Regions from separate parts of the Homo sapiens genome. Here regions 1, 2, 3, 5, 6 and 7 are each linked to region 4. The links are contacts of gene promoters, found by promoter capture Hi-C in blood cells and fetal thymus (Javierre and others, 2016). All regions are on one chromosome and are shown on one strand. Each heading gives the region's core, a stretch centred on a gene start or on the middle of the fragment in contact. The rest is flanking DNA. Distances are from core to core; before and after follow the strand shown. Region 1 overlaps LOC124903279 (a long non-coding RNA gene). Region 2 has its middle 2.6 kb from the start of OR4K2. Region 3 overlaps LOC124903278 (a long non-coding RNA gene). Region 4 holds the start of OR4L1 (olfactory receptor family 4 subfamily L member 1). Region 5 has its middle 4.4 kb from the start of OR11H6. Region 6 has its middle 14 kb from the start of OR4K2. Region 7 overlaps TTC5 (tetratricopeptide repeat domain 5).

Evidence for each region. The method cuts DNA at HindIII sites, captures the fragments that hold promoters and counts their contacts. A CHiCAGO score of 5 or more calls a contact.
Region 1: a contact is called between a fragment that was not itself captured here and the fragment with the promoter of OR4L1 in region 4, in 4 of 17 cell types (M2 macrophages, M1 macrophages, erythroblasts and 1 more). The highest score is 9.6, in M2 macrophages.
Region 2: a contact is called between a fragment that was not itself captured here and the fragment with the promoter of OR4L1 in region 4, in 8 of 17 cell types (naive CD4 T cells, total CD4 T cells, M2 macrophages and 5 more). The highest score is 9.0, in naive CD4 T cells.
Region 3: a fragment that was not itself captured here is called in contact with the fragment with the promoter of OR4L1 in region 4 in 9 of 17 cell types (naive CD4 T cells, total CD4 T cells, non-activated CD4 T cells and 6 more); the score reaches 8.5 in naive CD4 T cells.
Region 5: a contact is called between a fragment that was not itself captured here and the fragment with the promoter of OR4L1 in region 4, in 1 of 17 cell types (endothelial precursors). The highest score is 5.1, in endothelial precursors.
Region 6: a fragment that was not itself captured here is called in contact with the fragment with the promoter of OR4L1 in region 4 in 5 of 17 cell types (total CD4 T cells, naive CD8 T cells, non-activated CD4 T cells and 2 more); the score reaches 6.8 in total CD4 T cells.
Region 7: a contact is called between a fragment that was not itself captured here and the fragment with the promoter of OR4L1 in region 4, in 4 of 17 cell types (M1 macrophages, M2 macrophages, M0 macrophages and 1 more). The highest score is 7.0, in M1 macrophages.

The regions. Positions count from the first base shown.
Region 1 is chr14:20,262,236-20,264,935 of GRCh38, forward strand. It overlaps LOC124903279 (a long non-coding RNA gene), which reads right to left. Exons shown (of 2, transcript XR_007064057.1): 1 at 1-2,700. Among named protein-coding and RNA genes, the nearest start is that of OR11H4, 24 kb to the left of the region's middle. The HindIII fragment of the contact is 1,434 bases long and covers 702-2,135 here.
Region 2 is chr14:19,871,190-19,873,954 of GRCh38, forward strand. No RefSeq gene overlaps it. Among named protein-coding and RNA genes, the nearest start is that of OR4K2, 2.6 kb to the right of the region's middle. The HindIII fragment of the contact is 5,805 bases long and covers 1-2,765 here.
Region 3 is chr14:19,903,483-19,906,182 of GRCh38, forward strand. All of the region lies in intron 3 of LOC124903278 (a long non-coding RNA gene), which reads right to left. It also overlaps the pseudogene OR4K4P. Among named protein-coding and RNA genes, the nearest start is that of OR4K5, 16 kb to the right of the region's middle. The HindIII fragment of the contact is 5,016 bases long and covers 1-2,700 here.
Region 4 is chr14:20,058,660-20,061,359 of GRCh38, forward strand. It overlaps OR4L1 (olfactory receptor family 4 subfamily L member 1), which reads left to right and starts at 1,386. Exons shown (of 1, transcript NM_001004717.1): 1 at 1,386-2,324. The coding sequence starts at 1,386. The coding sequence ends at 2,324. The HindIII fragment of the contact is 2,043 bases long and covers 1-1,941 here.
Region 5 is chr14:20,226,787-20,229,486 of GRCh38, forward strand. It overlaps the pseudogene OR11H7. Among named protein-coding and RNA genes, the nearest start is that of OR11H6, 4.4 kb to the left of the region's middle. The HindIII fragment of the contact is 2,320 bases long and covers 225-2,544 here.
Region 6 is chr14:19,887,432-19,890,131 of GRCh38, forward strand. No RefSeq gene overlaps it. Among named protein-coding and RNA genes, the nearest start is that of OR4K2, 14 kb to the left of the region's middle. The HindIII fragment of the contact is 2,598 bases long and covers 1-2,591 here.
Region 7 is chr14:20,291,642-20,294,341 of GRCh38, forward strand. It overlaps TTC5 (tetratricopeptide repeat domain 5), which reads right to left. Exons shown (of 10, transcript NM_138376.3): 9 at 342-486. Among named protein-coding and RNA genes, the nearest start is that of TTC5, 13 kb to the right of the region's middle. The HindIII fragment of the contact is 2,017 bases long and covers 285-2,301 here.

The sequences.
Region 1 (2,700 bases), core at 169-2,668, 200 kb after region 4:
TATTGGCCAAAGCTGCACAACTAGGTTTACTTTCCTCTGGGCAGTGACAAACAGAAGCAGACAAGGTAAGTTTTCCACAAGGCCTTTTGCTAATAGAGAAGCAGTATGTGGACCAATATGTTGAGGCTCACATTCCTCAAATGATATGCTCTTTCATCTTCTCTTTTCTCCTATCATTTGCCTCCCCCACTGTGGACACATGAAACAGATACCTAATCTTTTCCCCTCTCTGCCACCATGAATAAAAAGATTCAAGCTGAACACAATAGTTGGCAAAGTCTAGAAGATGCTGGCATTATTAAAACTGTCTCTGCAAAGGCAATGCCCAAAGGAACCCCATTCTCCCAGGCCTAATCCAAAGGCAAAGTTGTTTTAACAGATTAGAAAAGAAAGTTGAAGGAGCAGAGTCACAACAGAACCTAGGTCCCTGAGTGCCAGTTTCGGGCTCTCTGCAGCAGCTCTGCCATGGTTGATTAGCAGGAGTTGGAGTCCCCTGAGAGCCAATTAGAGGAGGAAGTCAGGGTGGGGGAGGGAGGAGTGATTCCATCAACTCCCCATTAAAAGTGAGTGGATCCCACAGCACAGAGAGACAGTGACTCAAACTGTTGCATCAGCCAAAGTTCCAATACTAACTCCCTAAACGTGAGGAAGGGCAAAGGGAAGGAGGGAGGGAGGAAAGTGAGGTGTCTCACACTCTGGCAAGCTTCCACTTCCTATCTCAAGCGAATAGATCTCCTCATTAGCCATGAAGAAAACCCCAACACACTATGAGAGGAATTAGCCAGGGGGCTGCTGACACACAGCCAGGCTGCCAATTCAGAATCACTCTTGTCAAGTCAGATCCCATGTGACTCATTGTCTTTTGTGTAGAAAAGTAAAACTTTCATGACTACCCTCCCTCCATCTCAAACTTATAAAATAACTGATGATTTTCCAAACATGTTCACAAACACTACTTGATTGATTTCTACAAAATCACTGAGTTTTTCCAGGTTTGTGTAAGTATTTTCATCTAGGAATTTAAAGAAGTTAATAATGAAGTTCAAGAGATTTTCCTAAAATCACACAGGCAGTGTTATTTGTGTATTTTTAAGCAATATACCACTATGCTTATATAGATAGAATATCTCCGGAAGAAAACAATAAAATGGAGTCGTTACTCCAGTAAGGGAAGTAGAGGTCAGGCGTGAAAATGAAGTTTTTTCTCTGTATAGTTTTTAATAACTTTTCAATTTTACACCATTGTATATATAACTTCCTGAAATAAATGAAAAAGAAAGTTACAATTAGGGAGCAGAAAACTATAATCCAATTCTCTTTCCCGCTGTACAGCACCATCTCCTATGGGGGGGGCGGGTAAGGAGTAAGAACAGTTTTCCTTTTCCTGTATCTTCCCACATATGCCCTATTCCATCACCTCCCTATCCACTTATAGATGCAAAATTTTCTGTGAGCACTTTCCCATTGTTGCCTGCTCTATGCAAACCTGCCAGGAGCTGAGAGTGTGCTGAGAAAACCAACCAAGTCCTAGGAAAATTTAAAATGTGACTCTGATTTATACAGAGACTAATTCTAACAACATAATTTTCATTTGAAATTAAAAATAGCATTTTTGTCCAAATGTCTTCTGAGAATAGATAAACTAACACTTCAGCATAAAAGATCAAGATTAGAAAGAATGAAGGCAGTAAACTTGCCAGTAACAGGCACTGTGCTTCCCCAGTACTCAACAGGCTGATGGGTCACTGACAGACGAGGAGGAACAACCTGTCCTAGATATCATTAAAGGAGATTCTTGGCTTGATGGAGAGACAGGCTCCCACAAAAAGAAAAATGAGAGGATGTTATGGTCATGTATTACTAATAGTTTAGAGGAGAAAATTTGAAAATGTAAATGAAATGGATAAATTACTATAAAAATACAAAATATTAAAACTGACTCAAGAGAAAAATTGAATGATTCAAACCAATAAACATCAAAGAATTTAAATCAGTAGTTAACCTTTCTATTAACAAAATGTGCAGTACTGATGACTTTACAGGTAAATTCTACCAAAAAAAAAGAGAAGACAATTTCATATAAACTCTTCAAATAATCACACAGAGGAAACACTCTTTACTCATTGTATGAGGCAAGCTTACATTTGATACCAAAACCAAACTAGAATACACTAAGCAATAAAAACTAAACTAAAATCACTTGTCACCCACACACACATAAACCTAGTTAAATGAATACAGCAGTGTATAAGAATATATATAACCTAGGCCGGGTGCAGTGGCTCACGCCTGTAATTCCAGCACTTTGGGCAGCTGAGGAAGGTGAATCACTTGAGGTCAAGAGTTCAAGACCAGCCTGGGGCAACATGGCGTGAAACCCCATCTCTAGAAGAAACAAATAGATGCCATAAAAAATGATAAAGGGGATATCACCACCGATCCCACAGAAATACAAACTACCATCAGAGATTACTACAAACACTTCTACGCAAATAAACTAGAAAATCTAGAAGAAATGGATAAATTCCTCGACACATACACTCTCCCAAGACTAAACCAGGAAGAAGTCGAATCTCTGAATAGACCAATAAAAGGAGCTGAAATTGTGGCAATAATTAATAGTTTAACAACCAAAAAGAGTCCAGGACCAGATGGATTCACAGCCAAATTCTACCAGAGGTACAAGGAGGAACTGGTACA
Region 2 (2,765 bases), core at 37-2,536, 190 kb before region 4:
TTTAAAGGTGAATTACAGAATGCATGATTGCTCGTAAATGTTTCATGTACAGGACATGGATGTGATTGGCTGGGAAAATATAAAGAATAACGCGTATCTTGGACCACAGCAAAGACAAGACAAATAGTATCTATTATTTGACTTATGAGACTACAAGTGTTATCTCCCAGTTCCTCCATTAACAAATGAGTATAAGGCCTGTGTATCCCCATTTGGAAAAAAACTGATACAGAAAATAATAAAATGAATGTTCGAGAATTTAAATTTTGTACTATTCACTTGAATCATTATGGAGTAATGGAAGAAAAAAGTGAAAAGTGAAAAAATTCTGGTTTATAAATTCTAACTATGTAAAGAATGTGAAGTAATCATCAAAATTTTAATATCTGCTAAAAATCAGAATAACAATCAATAAAATTTAAATGCCACCCATACTTAAATATTTCTCTATTAACAAGAAAGTTTTGACTATATTTCACAGAGCTTGTATTCATAAGATGAAAAGAAATAACTTGATGAAACTGCATTATATGCCTCTAGTGTAATATAAAGAACATTGAATCTCAGATTTGGAGGCCTGAGTTTACATCACAGTACAAGACTTTATTATATTATACTGAGTACATCACCACATTATCATAAATCTCAATCTCCTCATTTGCACTGAGAGATAAAAAAACAAAGCACTGGTATATCAGTACATAAAAAGCTATTAAATTAGACAATAAAAAGACCAAGAACCCTGCATAAAATGGGAAAAAAGCGCAAATAGCTATTTTCTATAGAAAAGATGCTCAAACTCTTTTTTATATGAACATATGTTGAAATTCATTGAGATACCACATATCAACTATCATATGGTAAATGTTTCTATCAGGCAGCAAAATTCTAGCAGCTTGAACACCTGCTCTAGATGACACTACAGTGAGGTAATGCCAGAAGGAATATAAAATAATAAAATCCCATGGAGGAACATTTAAATATATTAAATATACACATATATATTTAAATAGGTATATATATGTGTGTGTGTGTGTGTGTATATATATATAAATACACATATATATACCTATCTATATATATACACATATATATACCTATTTATATATATATACATATATATACCTATTTATATATATATACACATATATATACCTATTTATATATATATACACATATATATACCTATTTATATATATATACACATATATATACCTATTTATATATATATACACATATATATACCTATTTATATATATATACACATATATATACCTATTTATATATATATATACACATATATATACCTATTTATATATATATACACATATATATACCTATTTATATATATATATACACATATATATACCTATTTATATATATATACACATATATATACCTATTTATATATATATACACATATATATACCTATTTATATATATATACACATATATATACCTATTTATATATATATACACATATATATACCTATTTTTATATATATACACATATATATACCTATTTATATATATATATATATATATATATTTACCTCTAAGGAGAGGGAGATGATAGGGGACAATAGGATTGACATGTTGGAATGTCAGGGATAAAATCAAAACATCTCTGATTTTATCTACATTGTTAGTTTTGACTTAGGTTAAGAAATAGAGTTCAACTTAGAAAGCAGAGCTACCATGCACTGTAGGATAAGGCATTTACCATAGGAATTAGACCTTAAACAATTCTGGAAGGACTTAGGAAAGCAAAGACATGAAACAGGGAGCTGCAGAATCAGAGGCAGCAATAGCCAGTCAATCGAGAAACCAAGCCCATCTAGCCAATGAAGTAGAGGTCATGAAAGGAGCAAAATTTAGAAAATTTTGCTGGTAGAAAAATTTTTGTTCAGTTGCTGCTTCTGAGGATCTGCAGGCAGGCAGCCTGAGGCTTCTGTTGATCCTCCAATTCAGAAGTTGGGAAAAAGGTGGACGCAGAGTGAAGTGGCTGAGAACAAAACAAGCTAGAAGCTGTTGGCACCTCTGCATCTGTATAGCCACAAAGATCAGAGAGTAATGGCTGGTGCTTTGGGCTGCTTTTCAAATTCCAAACACATTTATTTTTAGACAACTCCAATACGGAAAGACGTGTAGAAAAGAATTCTGGGAACTGTAGTTCTCAGCTTAACCACTTTGACAATAGAAAGATGTAAGGTGCCACTCTCCGGTCTGTAGGAAAGACTCATGCACTTGCATTATTTACCTGGGAGCTCCGCTGGTACTGGAACTTTCAGAACGGATTTCCTAACATATCTTGTGCCTCACCTGGAGTGTATCAGATGGCTAGGGTCTGGCTGGTACTCCATATTTACATATAATATCTCATCATTCTGTATTCCTCCCGTGTGTGTGTGTGTGTGTGTGTGTGTGTGTGTGCGCGCGCGCGCGCGCGCACATGTGTGTCTATCTCTCAATGTTTCTTTGTATTTATTCTATTTATCCTAAGACCCTGATGAGTTAAAAAATAAAATATATAAACAGTGCTGGAGTCACGCATTGACTTTTAAAACTTCTGCTCATGTGTGGCATATGATACTTCTAGTCACATTACATTGAACAAAGTCATGTATCCAAGGTTCTGGTAGATAAAGTGAGGGTTATACTCCTTCCACAGCATGTGAAGGTCCCTGAAGGGATGAGCCATATACAAAAAGGTAATCAATTTTGATTTTCTAAAATTCAGTCGGCTGGGTATGGTGGCTCACTGT
Region 3 (2,700 bases), core at 128-2,627, 160 kb before region 4:
AACAAATGCTAAGTATGTGAGGTAATGCCCGTGATAAATAGCTTGATTTAGCCATTATGCATTGTACACAAATATCAAAACATCATGTTGTACAATAAAAATATATAGAATTTTTATTTGTCAATTAAAAAATAAGTTCTTGAAATAAAAAAACACAAATAATCTAGTGCAGCTCCTTGTGAAATCAAAAATATGGCTCTTGGAAAAGCAAAAATAACAGAAGAATAAGAAAAAAGAAAAGATCAGTACTGATGAAAATTAAAGTTAAAAAGAGACTGTACAATTAATTATTATAGATCAGAAAAGTGTTCATAAATTTATATGTTTAGGAAGCTAAACAACTTAAATAATGTAAAAGCATAAGACAACATTCATTGACATGAATTTTTAATTTTTTCAGAAATCATACATTGTCAAATTTTCTAAGGAGGAGAAAATTCAAGCTGTAATCATCATGGATTACATTAAAAGAAGCTAAAAGTATCATCCTATAAAACTCACAAGCTCTCAAAGACTTGGAACCAACCCAAATGTCCATCAATGATAGACTGGATTAAGAAAATGTGGCACATATACACCATGGAATACTATGCAGCCATAATAAAGGATGAGTTCATGTCCTTTGTAGGGACATGGATGAAGCTGGAAACCATTATTCTCAGCAAACTATTGCAAGGACAAAAAACCAAACATCACATGTTCCCACTCATAGGTGGGAATTGAACGAGAACACTTGGACACAGGAAGGGGAACATCACACACGGAGGCCTGTTGTGAGGTGGGGGGAGGGGGGAGGGATAGCATTAGGAGATATACCTAATGTAAATGATGAGTTAATGGGTGCAGCACACCAACATGGCACATGTATACATATGTAACAAACTTGCACGTTGTGCACATGTACCCTAGAACTTAAAGTATAATAATAATAATTAAAAAAAACTCGCAAGCTACATTCATGTTTATGTACAATCTTTCCCAAACCATCAAAGTACAGATAATGCTAGGATATAGAAACACTTTTCTGAGCAACCCCACTAATTTTGTGAGCCTATCATTGTCTTACTACCAAAATAGGAAGTGGATAGCCCAACAAGTTAAAACTACTATAATTGTAAACCTATACGAAAAATCCTAAATAAATAATTAGCACATCAAACCAAAGTTATAATATTCTCATATAACACACCATAATTAAGTGGAGTGTATGCTAAGAATACAAATATGTTTCTATGGGATATCCTATCAATAATTTTTAACATTTAAAATTAAAACAGGAATTCATTTAACATTCGTATTGCAGTGCATCAGCTGTTCTTTGCTGAGTTTCTTCTCACTGATGTGTGGAATATCACTGAAGATTCAGTTCAATTCAATTCTTCGTATAGTGTCGCAGAAATCTCTCCATGTAAAACTCTTCCTAAATCTATTAGAAACATAGTGCGTGTAATTGGTTATAAGTAAGACAAGGGAAAGAGCTCTGGAGTTGAAAGAAAGTTGAAAGTGGTTTGGCTGTCTGGACTTGAACCCTTTTCCCTATTCAACAAGCCAGCAAATATTTAATGGCAAGGAATCATCATGGGACACATTCATACTCCCGTGGTTCCTGTTCAATCCCAAGTCCTAAATGAAATAGATAAATGATAAAATGGGAAAAGGGTGAAATAGAGTGTCAAGAAGAGGAGGTTTACCTAAGTCAATATTTATGATAGTTATAACACCTTAACTCTAAAGTATGTGCACATTTGGTGCAGGTCCCCTTCAAGAACATTTGATCTGAAAGAAGCCAAAACTTGTTTGAACTTTCTCAAAATCTGTAGATAATTGAATCAGGTAAGTCTTTTTTTAAAAAAAAATTTATGTCGACAACTTGCTTGATCCAATTGCTTGAGATTTTTTTTTTGGAAAATGGAAGTAAGACCTTTAACTAGAGAATGAAACTTGGAGCAATGGCTTATGATTCTTGGACTTACAGTTTTGTGCAAAGTCCTTTGACTCAACCACAAAATAATTATATCAATTTTAGTCCAGAGCATAAAATTTGAATTTGGGTATGATAGAAAATGACTTAAAGATCAATTTCTGTAATATTTGAGGGTTTTTTTGGTTCTATGGGTCTTTTTCTGAAATATTGAATAGAAAAGACTCTACAGAAGCATATTAACATCATTCTATACTCATCTCAGTTCAAACCAGCCCACTCTGACATCTAGACAAAAGTGGCATTCAGTAGAGGATATGGTGCCATTCTCTATGAGGATTTCTGGCATTTTTCAAATCTTCATTTTACGGCTATCATCACCTTATCTACTAATATTCTGTACTGACATGTGTACCATTTCAGTTTACATATTCTCATATAGTAAAATGTTAACTGCAAGGGAATTTACCTCAAACCCAAACCATTAACGTAACTTCAGAGACAATATGGATTAAGATTATCCATGATTTCCTTCATGAACCCAAGACTATCTCCTTTGAGGGCTGCATGGCCCAGATATTCTTGTTCCATGTCTTTGCTGGTGGTGAGATGGTGCTCCTTGTAGCCATGGCATATGACATATATGTAGCCATATGCAAACCTCTCCATTATGCAACCATCATGAACTTGTGCACATGTACAGGCCTAGTGGTAGGATCTTGGGTCACTGGAGTTATGCACTCCCTGAGCCAGTTAGCTTTCACTGTAAGTTTGCCCTT
Region 4 (2,700 bases), core at 136-2,635:
GTGCCCTCTGATGCCACATACAGTCTCCCCCACCCTTAACAACCTGAACCAGAGTGGTACATTCGTTACCGCTGGTGAGCCTACATTGCACATTATTATCTCCCCAAATTTGTAGTTTACATTAGGATTTACTCTTGATGTTATACATGCTATGGGTTTTGACAAATGTGTTATGTATTTCTAAGTATAGTAGATAAGAATTGTTTCAATACCCTGCAAATTCTCCGTACTTCTCTTATTTCTTCATTTCTCCTTCTTCATTCAAACCCCTGGAAACCACTGAACGTTTAACTGTCTCCAGTTTTTTCTTAGTTTATTTCAAATAAAAGACATGCAACTTTTCCTTTTACTTGAACACTTAGAGGCTATTGCAAAGCTATTAATTGGCCTAAATCCAATATTGTTGTATCTCAAAGAATAGAGAGGCCTGAAGAGAAGGAGAGAGATGAGGGAAGAGTAGGTTGGTGGAGCCGTTAGAAACAACATTTATCAATTGTCTGCCATTCTACATGGGCACGGCTTGTGGTGCCCAAAAATAATGAAAATAGTAACATAAAAGATTACTGGTCACAGATCAAATAACGTGTAATAATAATAATAAAGTTTGAAATAAATATTTTGGGAATTACCAAAATGTGACACAGAGACATAAAGTGAGCACATGCTGTTGGAAAAATGGTGCCAATAGACTTGCTGGATCCAGGGTTGTCACAAACCCTCAGTTTATAAAACATTAAATAACTGCAAAGGACAATAAAGTGAAACACAATAAAAGAGGTATACATGTATATTAAAAAGAAAAATTATTTTAAATAAATTTATATACTTTCATCCATGTATAATTTGCTCCTGATTTGTGTGTGTGTGTGTGTGTGCTTTTTGTTTGTTTGTTTGCTTATTTAGTTTAGAACCATAGAAAAACCTTCATAAATTACTTCAGAGATGTAGAACAATGTAATTCTTCATTTTCTAAATCTTGTATTCCTTATATATTGGGATAACATAATCTCAAGAAGTGCAGGTACAGAATACTATAATAATAAAAGGCAAAATAAAAAGTAATTAATTAGTATCTAATCTTTATATGTGAACAAATGAGTAAGAAAGTCAAGATCCATTGATAAGAGTATGATTTTATGGAATAAACAATAGAAAATGGAACTTCTACTTCTTCAAATGATTTGTAATTACTGCAGAGTAATTGTTTCAAAGTGATATAATATTTAAGCTAATCTCTGTGTTGATATATTTAAAATTATATGATCTCATATCATCAACTATTATCACCAACTAATAGAAATAAGAAAATATTGGTGTTAACTGTGACTTATTTTTTAATTCTCTTTGTATATAAAGAACTTCTGGAACCTTTCTGAGTTGAGTAAATGGATCTTAAAAATGGATCTCTAGTGACCGAGTTTATTTTACTAGGATTTTTTGGACGATGGGAACTTCAAATTTTCTTCTTTGTGACATTTTCCCTGATCTACGGTGCTACTGTGATGGGAAACATTCTCATTATGGTCACAGTGACATGTAGGTCAACCCTTCATTCTCCCTTGTACTTTCTCCTTGGAAATCTCTCTTTTTTGGACATGTGTCTCTCCACTGCCACAACACCCAAGATGATCATAGATTTGCTCACTGACCACAAGACCATCTCTGTGTGGGGCTGCGTGACCCAGATGTTCTTCATGCACTTCTTTGGGGGTGCTGAGATGACTCTTCTGATAATCATGGCCTTTGACAGGTATGTAGCCATATGTAAACCCCTGCACTATAGGACAATCATGAGCCACAAGCTGCTAAAGGGGTTTGCGATACTTTCATGGATAATTGGTTTTTTACACTCCATAAGCCAGATAGTTTTAACAATGAACTTGCCTTTCTGTGGCCACAATGTCATAAACAACATATTTTGTGATCTTCCCCTTGTGATCAAGCTTGCTTGCATTGAAACATACACCCTGGAATTATTTGTCATTGCTGACAGCGGGCTGCTCTCTTTCACCTGTTTCATCCTCTTGCTTGTTTCTTACATTGTCATCCTGGTCAGTGTACCAAAAAAATCATCACATGGGCTCTCCAAGGCGCTGTCCACATTGTCTGCCCACATCATTGTGGTCACTCTGTTCTTTGGACCTTGTATTTTTATCTATGTTTGGCCATTCAGTAGTTTGGCAAGCAATAAAACTCTTGCCGTATTTTATACAGTTATCACACCCTTACTGAATCCGAGTATTTATACCCTGAGAAATAAGAAAATGCAAGAGGCCATAAGAAAATTACGGTTCCAATATGTTAGTTCTGCACAGAATTTCTAGATGTTAGCACTATATAATTAACTTTTAAATGCTACGATAAGATAGTTTGAATAGATTATGTATAATGCATCATTTCACTTTTCTTATGTTATAATAATAACGCATAAAGACAATACTAAATTACTTTAAATTTTACATTTAAGACTTTTATAAACATAAGGATAGAGATCTGCAGCAAAATAGACATAAAAATAGACATAAATAAACATAAAAAGATTATTGAGGATTTTTATCATATACATTCAATATATTCATTAATAAAGAAACAACTGTAAATGAATACATGAAGATATGAATATTATTAGAGGTTATTTTAATATATATTGATAATGTTATTCATAAATTTATACTATTATTAAATGAGGTATCATGAACA
Region 5 (2,700 bases), core at 135-2,634, 170 kb after region 4:
AAGGGAGACCTGAGAATTCTCAACAGTGCCTCAAATGAGGCATAAATTAAGACCAACACATAGTTCAACACCCTCAGTGAGAAACAAGCCACTAGACTCTTAGGGTACAAGAGAAGTGAAATAAGCCACTGGTGAAGCTCTGACACAGGACTTCCATATTGGAGCCAGTGAAGGAGAGAATCCGTGTGGCCTCCCTGCAGGCTTTCTCAGGGATGACCTAGGAAAGCTTCCTGGTATGTAGGAGAGGTATTCTTCGTTGAGCGTTGCTGCTGTTATACACGACAGATGGACTACTCACCTATACATTTCTTCATTCAACATGCTTCAGAGATTGAGTATCAAAGAATATTGGTCTATCTTTCAGCTCAAAAACCAAAAGAAAAAAAATCCCTCAGAGTGTTGAGATCACCATGCAATTCACACTTTCCAAAAGAAGTACACTAATCATCCACAGGTCTTCTCCTTCTCAGGAAGTGCCTGAGGCACCAGGAATGCTATGACGTTTGTAGAGATTTTGAGCTTAACAGTATGGAACTAGCTTTATCCACTGGGACTAAAACCAAAAGAAAATTGGAATTTTTTTTAATCTTCTCTCTGTTTTCCTCTCTCTGTCCCTTTCATTACTCACTTTGCACCTTCAGGAGAAGTGACATTTAAAAAAAAAGAAAAGATAAAAATAAAATCAATGTTTTTGTGGACTAAGAACTCACATAGATTTAGTGGTGAATATATTAGGAACTGTTTCTTACAAATATGTTGGAAATTATCTGTGAAATTTATTTACCATGCTTTCCCTGTGGCTAATTGTTTTTCTGCAAGGTTTTTGTTTGTTTGTTGTTTTTAATGTCAATGAAAGTAGTCTAAGCTCAAAGAAGCAGCTCGGTCTTGTGCATTTTGATTTTGGGTCAAAGTCTGTGAATCTGAGTTCAAAAACATTGTTGCTCCTTCTCTGTTCCAAGCATAAGTGGCTGCTCCCTGCATCACTGCTTTCTCATCTTGTTGAGGAGAGAGGTTTCTTGCTCGGAAAGGAGAATGTATAGAGGACCCATAGTGGGGAGCCATTCTTTTATGATATCTTACAAAAATGACCATCGATGCAGGTTTAGTTTAGTTCTTCATAATCATCCTAGTTTAAAAAATTAAAAATCACTGATCCCCATCTTGCAGTTTCTTTCTCTTTTTGGCTTCTTGTCCACCAAACCACAACCTTTTGCAAAACCAGCTCTATGAAAAGGTCTATGTTTCCTTCTAGATGGGTAGATTCATAGTTCACCTTGTGCATTACTAACTGCAACAGCTGCATGATCATAAATATATTTCTTATTTAATATAACCTCACTGAATAGGAGGGTTTTTTCTATTTGATTATGTTCAGTGAGTACTGTAAATATATATGCATACAGACAAACACACTATGTATATATGTGTGTGTGTACATATATGTATATACCACCTTGATCAAATACTATATATGTGCTACTTTAATTGAAAAAAATATAAGGCAAATTATCCTCTTAACAATCAAAAAAGTTAAAGGTATCTTGTTAAAATTTTTCTGAAGAGTCCCATATGTTAAAGCTATCATTTACTCTTTTCTTGGAGTTGTATTTGATTCTTGAAAATATATCTTCTTTGGTGATGGTGTTCTAAAGGAAACAAACCAACTCTCGGAAAATGGGTAAATAATTATGTTTGAAATAACACCTTTGATTCTCTTGTATCTTGTTTTTTTGAATATTTGGAGGCTATTATTTTACATGGACTAAAGAAAGATCTTACAAACAGTGAATTTTAGAGAAAATTCTGGCAAAAGTAATAAGAGGAGCTTTAGAAGAAAATATCCCAGTAACTGTAGTTATCTTCGCTATCTTATATGTTATCTTTAATGAAATATTTCTTTTTAAAGGTATATGGAGCATGATAAATTATAATGTGAAATTAATCACCAGGAAATGAATAATTATGACATTTTATTGCTAAAAGCAAATGATTAAATACCAAATTGTAAATAAGCTGTAGTACAATATAAATGTCTCTAAATAGGAAAAAGCAAAATATATAAAGAATTTTATTATCTAAATATCCTTGTTGACTTTCTCCTGGTATCACTAAAAAAATTGGAAGAAAATAAATACTCTTAACAGAAATAGCTCCGGAAAGAAAGAATCTGAAATAATGTCAAAAGTACAAACTACTCAAAGCTGTAAAAAGTCTCAGACTTGAATATATTAAAAATGATGGCATATGTCTTCATAATTTGAAGTGAACAGCAATAAGTAATTGCTATATATGAACATCTTTCACTGAAAAACAAATTAGATATAAAACAAACCATTTTTGCCTCTATTTCAAGAATTTCTTTATATCAAAAGAAGATGAAATGTTGATTTTTGTCCATTGCCACAGAAAATTCAAACAACCTGAAGTTTACAAGAATCAGACCCACAGGACTCATTTGAGAAAGATAAACCAGGTGTGCTTAAGAATTCTTTTAGAATATCCAATATATTCACCTGCAAGAGTCAAACTCCTTATCCCAAAAAAAGCTTCAAGATGCTTCATCAGCAAAGCAAATTGTCATTGACCATCGGTGTTCTCTCCACAGTCTGGGAAGCATGAATAACTCACAGATATCTACTGTGACGCAGTTTGTGTTGTTGGGGTTTCCTGGTCCCTGGAAAATTCAGATCATCTTTTTCT
Region 6 (2,700 bases), core at 43-2,542, 170 kb before region 4:
TAGTTTGTTTAAGTCCCATTTGCCTATTTTTGTCTTTATTGCAATTGCTTTTGGGTCTTCATCACAAACTCTTTGCTTAGGCCAATATTAAAAAGAGTTTTTCTAGGTTTTCTTCTAATATTTGTATAGTTTCAGGTCTTACATGTAGGTCTTTAATCCGTCTTGGGGTAATTTTTGTATATGGTGGGAGGTAGGGGTCTAGTTTTGTTCTTTCATATATGGCTAGCCAGTTTTCCAAGCACCATTTATTGAATATTTATTGATTAGAGTGTCCTTTCTCCATTGCTTGTCTTTGTTGACTTTACTAAAGAACAGCTGGTTACAGGTACGTGGCTTTGTTTTTGGGTTCTGTATTCTGTTCTATTGTCTATCTTTGTATCAGTACCACGCTTCTTTAGTTATTATATCCTCGTAGTATAATTTGAAGTCAGACAATGTAATACCTCCAAATTAGAACTTTTTGCTTAGGATTGCTTTGGCTCTTTGGGATTTTTTGTTTTTGTTTTTGTTTTTGTTTTTGGGTCCATATGAACTTTAGGACTTTTTTTTTCTAAATCTGTGAAAAATGACATTGGTAGTTTGATAGGAATTGCATTGAATATGTAGATTGCTTTGGTTGGATAATGAGGTCATTTTAATGATAGTTATTCTTCTAATTCATGAGCATGGAAAGTTTTTCCATTTTTTGTGGGTCATCTTCAATTTCTTTCATCAGTGTTTTGTAGTTCTCCTTGTAAAGATATTTCACCACCTTGATTAAGTGTATTTCTAGGTATTTTATTTTTGTGTGTGGCTATTGTAAATGTAATTGAGTTATTAATTTGGTTCTCAGCTTGAAGATTATTGGTGTATAGAAATGGTACTAGTTTTTGTACATTGATTTTGTATCCTGAGACTCTTCTGAAGTTGCTTATCAAGTCTAGGAATCTTCTAGAGGAGTCTTTAGGGTTTTCTAAGTATACAATCATGTTGTCAGCAAACAGAGACAATTTAACTTCCTCTTTTCCAATTTGAATGCCTTTATTTCTTTTTCTTCCCTGATAGCTCTGGAGAGGACTGCCAGTGCTATGTTGAATAAGAGTGTATGTTTATATGCATTAATTCCTTTCTTCTAGGTTTCTAGTTTGTGTGCATAGAGGTGTTCATAGTAGTCTCTTATTTTTTGTATTTCTTTGGTGTCAGTTGTAATGTCATTTTTATCATTTCTGATTGTACTTATTTGAATTTTCTCTTTTTTTCTTAGTCTAGCTAGTGGTCTGTCAATTTTGTTTATTCTTTCAAAGAAACAATTTTTTGTTGCATTGATTACACTGTGTTTTTTTGTCTCAATTTCACTTATTTCTGCTTGGATTTCAGGTATGTATTTTATTCTACTAACTTTGGGTTTGGTTTTTTATTGTTTTTTCTAGTTCCTTCAGGTGCAACATTATATTGTGAACTTTAGATATTTCCATCTTTTTGATGTAAGCATTTAACACTGTAAACTTTCCTTCTAGCACTGCCTTTGTTGTATCCCAGAGACTTTAGTATGTTGTGTTTCTATTTCATTTATTTTAAAGAATTTTTACAATTTCTGTCCTGATTTCGTTTTTTACCCAAAAGTTGTTCAGGAGCAAGTTTTTAGTTTCCATGTACTGGTGTAGTTTTGAGAGTATTTTTGGTATTAATTTCTAATTTTATTCCAGTGTGGTCCAGAAGGTACTGGATATAATCTCAGTTTTTAAAAATGTATTGAGACTTGCCTTATGCCTGAGCATATGCTTGATTTTGAAGGGTAGTCTTTGTGCAGATAAGAGAAATGTATATTCTGCAGTTGTTGGGTAAAATGTTCTGTAGATGTCTATTAGGTCCATTTGGTATATTTTTCAGTTTAAGTCCAGAGTTTCTTTGTTGATTCTCTTCTTCAATGATCTATTTAGTGATTTCAGTGAGGTATTAAAGTCCCCCACTATTATTATTATTATTTTATTATTATTATTATTTTGAGACAGAGTCTTCCTCTGTCACCCAGGCTGGAGTGCAATGGTGCGATCTTGGCTCACTGCAACCTTTGCCTCCTGGGTTCAAGTGATTTGTGTACCTCAGCCTCCTGAGTAGCTGGGATTACAGGTGCACACCACCATGCTCGGCTAGTTTTTTGTATTCTTAGTAGAGATGGGGTTTCACCATGTTGGCCAGGCTGGTCTTGAACCCCTGGCCTCAAGTGATCCACCCACCTCAGCTTCCTAAAGTTCTGGGATTACAGGCATGAGCCACTGCACCTAGCTCCCCACTATTATTTTATTTTATTTTTGAGACAGAGTCTTGCTTTGTTGCCCAGGCTGGAGTGTAGTGGAATGATCATGGCTCATTGCAGCCTTACCCTCCTGGGCTCAAACAATCCTCCCACCTCAGCCTCCCAAGTAGCCAGAACTATAGGCGTAACCACCATGCCCAGCTAATTTCTTTTTTTATGTGTAGAGGTGAGGTATTAGTTCATTCTTGCATTGCTATAAAGAAATATCTGATACTGTGTAATTTATCAAGAAAAGAGGTTTAATTGTCTCAAGATTCTGCAAGCTGTACAGACAGCATGATGCTGGCATCTGCTAAGCTTCTTGGGAGGCCTCAGGAATTTTACAATAATGGCAGAAGGCTAAAAGGGAGGTTGCATGTCACATGGCAAAAGCAGGAGCAAGAGAGAAAAGAAGGGAAGCGCTA
Region 7 (2,700 bases), core at 43-2,542, 230 kb after region 4:
AATATCCCACTCATGATTTAAAATATAGATATATGTGTATATATTTGTGAAAAGAAAAGACTTCAGGTATATACACCAAACTGTTAACAGTAACAGTTAAAAGGCAGTAATACCTGAGTGATAATATTTCACTGCATTTTTTTATTTTTCTGCTTACCAGTTTACCTTTTTAGTAAAAAAATACATATATATATATAAATAAAACATATACACACAAATATATATACACATAGCCTACACACATACTTACATATAATTATTTCTATATCTTTTATAAAAAGATAAGCTTGGTTCTACTTTTAGAGCCTACGAGTTGTAAGAGAATCCTAGCCATTGCTCACCTTTCCTTTGTGCTGAATTCGGTGAAGCCGCAGGTTGGGCTCAGGAATGGCTACAGAGTCTCCAATGAGCACTCCCCAGCTCTGCACTATATTGTACACCATCACTGCATAGCAAGGTCCATCTGAATCTACCAGGCCAAATGTACTACCAAGTAAAGACAGATTAGGAGAGAGGAAAACAAAAAGGTATGTGGGTAGGAAAGAAGAGCAGAAACAGTGGTTTAAAAATACTAGCAAAATACTGGACTTAAAGTCAGTGACAGGTAATTAAAATAAAATATAAAATTTAACTTAATTAAACTTTAAAAATAAAATACTAACAAAATAAACAAATGCTTTTTCTCAGTTACTCAGAAAACCTATGAGAGGTACCATCTTCCACTTTATATATCTGAGTCTTCATTTTTCTGAAACTCATCAGTCACTTTGCTAAGAACTTAGGACAAAGCACACTGAAGCCATTCAACAAATATTAATGATGAACTAGACCAACATGTTACAGTTGTAACATTATTCCTGGTCTATCAATTTAACTATCATACTCTTAACCAAAGCCTCTAACCATCACTGTCTGTGTAGTTTAACTCCACAAACTTTCACTGAATATTACATATGTGCCAAGCATTGTGTTTAGCAATAAGATACCAATCCAGCTATGAATGACCTATAGTCTAGCAGGAGTCAGACAATGAAGTCATCACTTACAGCACAGTGTGATGGGTGCTAGAATAGCTTTTCCCTTGTGCTGAATTCAATGAAGCCACAGATTGGGCTGTGGGAGCCCAGAGGACAAATATCTAAATCAAAATTGGAAAGCAGGGAAGATTTCCTGGAAGAGGTGACGCTCAAAGTGAATCTTAAAGGGTAAAAAACCAGCTGGGTTAAAAGAGAAAAATTAATCCTCGGTAAAAATGTTAAAAACCTCTGAGGGGATAGGAACAGAGATTTTGACTTGGAGGCAACATCAGGGAACTTCCCAGAATGGTGGTAATGATCTCTATTTGGGTTATACAGATATTTTCCATTTGTTAAAAGCTATGAAATGTACGCTTAAAATTGTACATTTCATTGTATGTAAATTTTACATAAAAAGAAAAAATTGAAACAAATACTGAACTCAGTTAATGACTGCATGCTAAAGTATGTAAAGTATATTGATCTCTGCAATTTACTCTGATAGCAGGATAAACAGACTGATATGTAATAAGCTAAGTAAAATAAAATATTAATGGTAGAATATAAGTGGATGAGAACACAAATGTTCAATGTAAAACTCTTTCAACTTAGCTATATGTTTGAAAATTTTTATACAAAATGTTGGGGGCAGAAGAGGATGTTAGCTATGTCAAGAAGAAGCTAGAGATTATCCAGGCAGAGTAACTGTATGTAAGACACAGAGGCATGAAAACAGCTGTTCTAAAACCAACAAAATTGTTCCATGGTTGAAACAAAAGGCACTGGTGGGAAAGAGACAAAAGATAATAGAAAGAGAAGCAGGGAGCAAATCATGAAGGACTTTGTATGCTAACCTAAGTAGTTCACACTTTATCCCAAAAGCTACATATAGTACCAGTAAGGGATCTTAAATAAGAAGTAGCAATGGTCAGATTTCCATCTAAGAAACATTTCTCTGGCAGCACTGTGGAACACTGGAGGAAACCAGAGAATCAGGGAGACCTATCTGGAGAAGTGATAAGGGGGTGAATTAAGGTGGTAAACACAGAGAAGTCAAGTCTATAGGACAAAAAAGGCAAATCTTTTTGGAGAATGGAGAAGCCTATTCTTCCAAAAGTCTTAATCAAGTGACTGAGAGGTGATACCATTCATTCACAAGGAATCCAGGGAGGAGAAGCAGGTTTACAGAGAAAGATTTAGGTGAGTAATACTGAAATACTGAGTTAGAGATTTCTTATTGGAACCCAGAAGCAGATGGTTATAGGAATCCAACACTTGGAAATGAAGCTTGGGCTGGAGATATATCTGTAAGCATATAGGAGGCTGCCAAAGCCTTGGGTTTATATGACATCACAGGGCAAGATGATCTATAGACAGGATGGAGAAGAATCACACTCATGCCATCACGTGACATGCCTGAATTCACAGGAAATATTGCAATCAAGCAAAGCACTCTCCTGATGAATCCAGTCAAAGCCTCAGAATCCTTCTACACAGTATGTCAGGCAACCACTGACAAGTGATCAAAGTTGGCAACTATAGGCCATCCTGATATAAAGAGAAAAAAGGAAAAAAACAAAAATAGAGTCCTGGGAACCTAAGATTTAAAAGTTAGGCAGAAAAAGAGAAACCAAGGAGTGGCAAAATATCTATTTGTTCTCAAGGTCCTCCAAAACCTACCTTT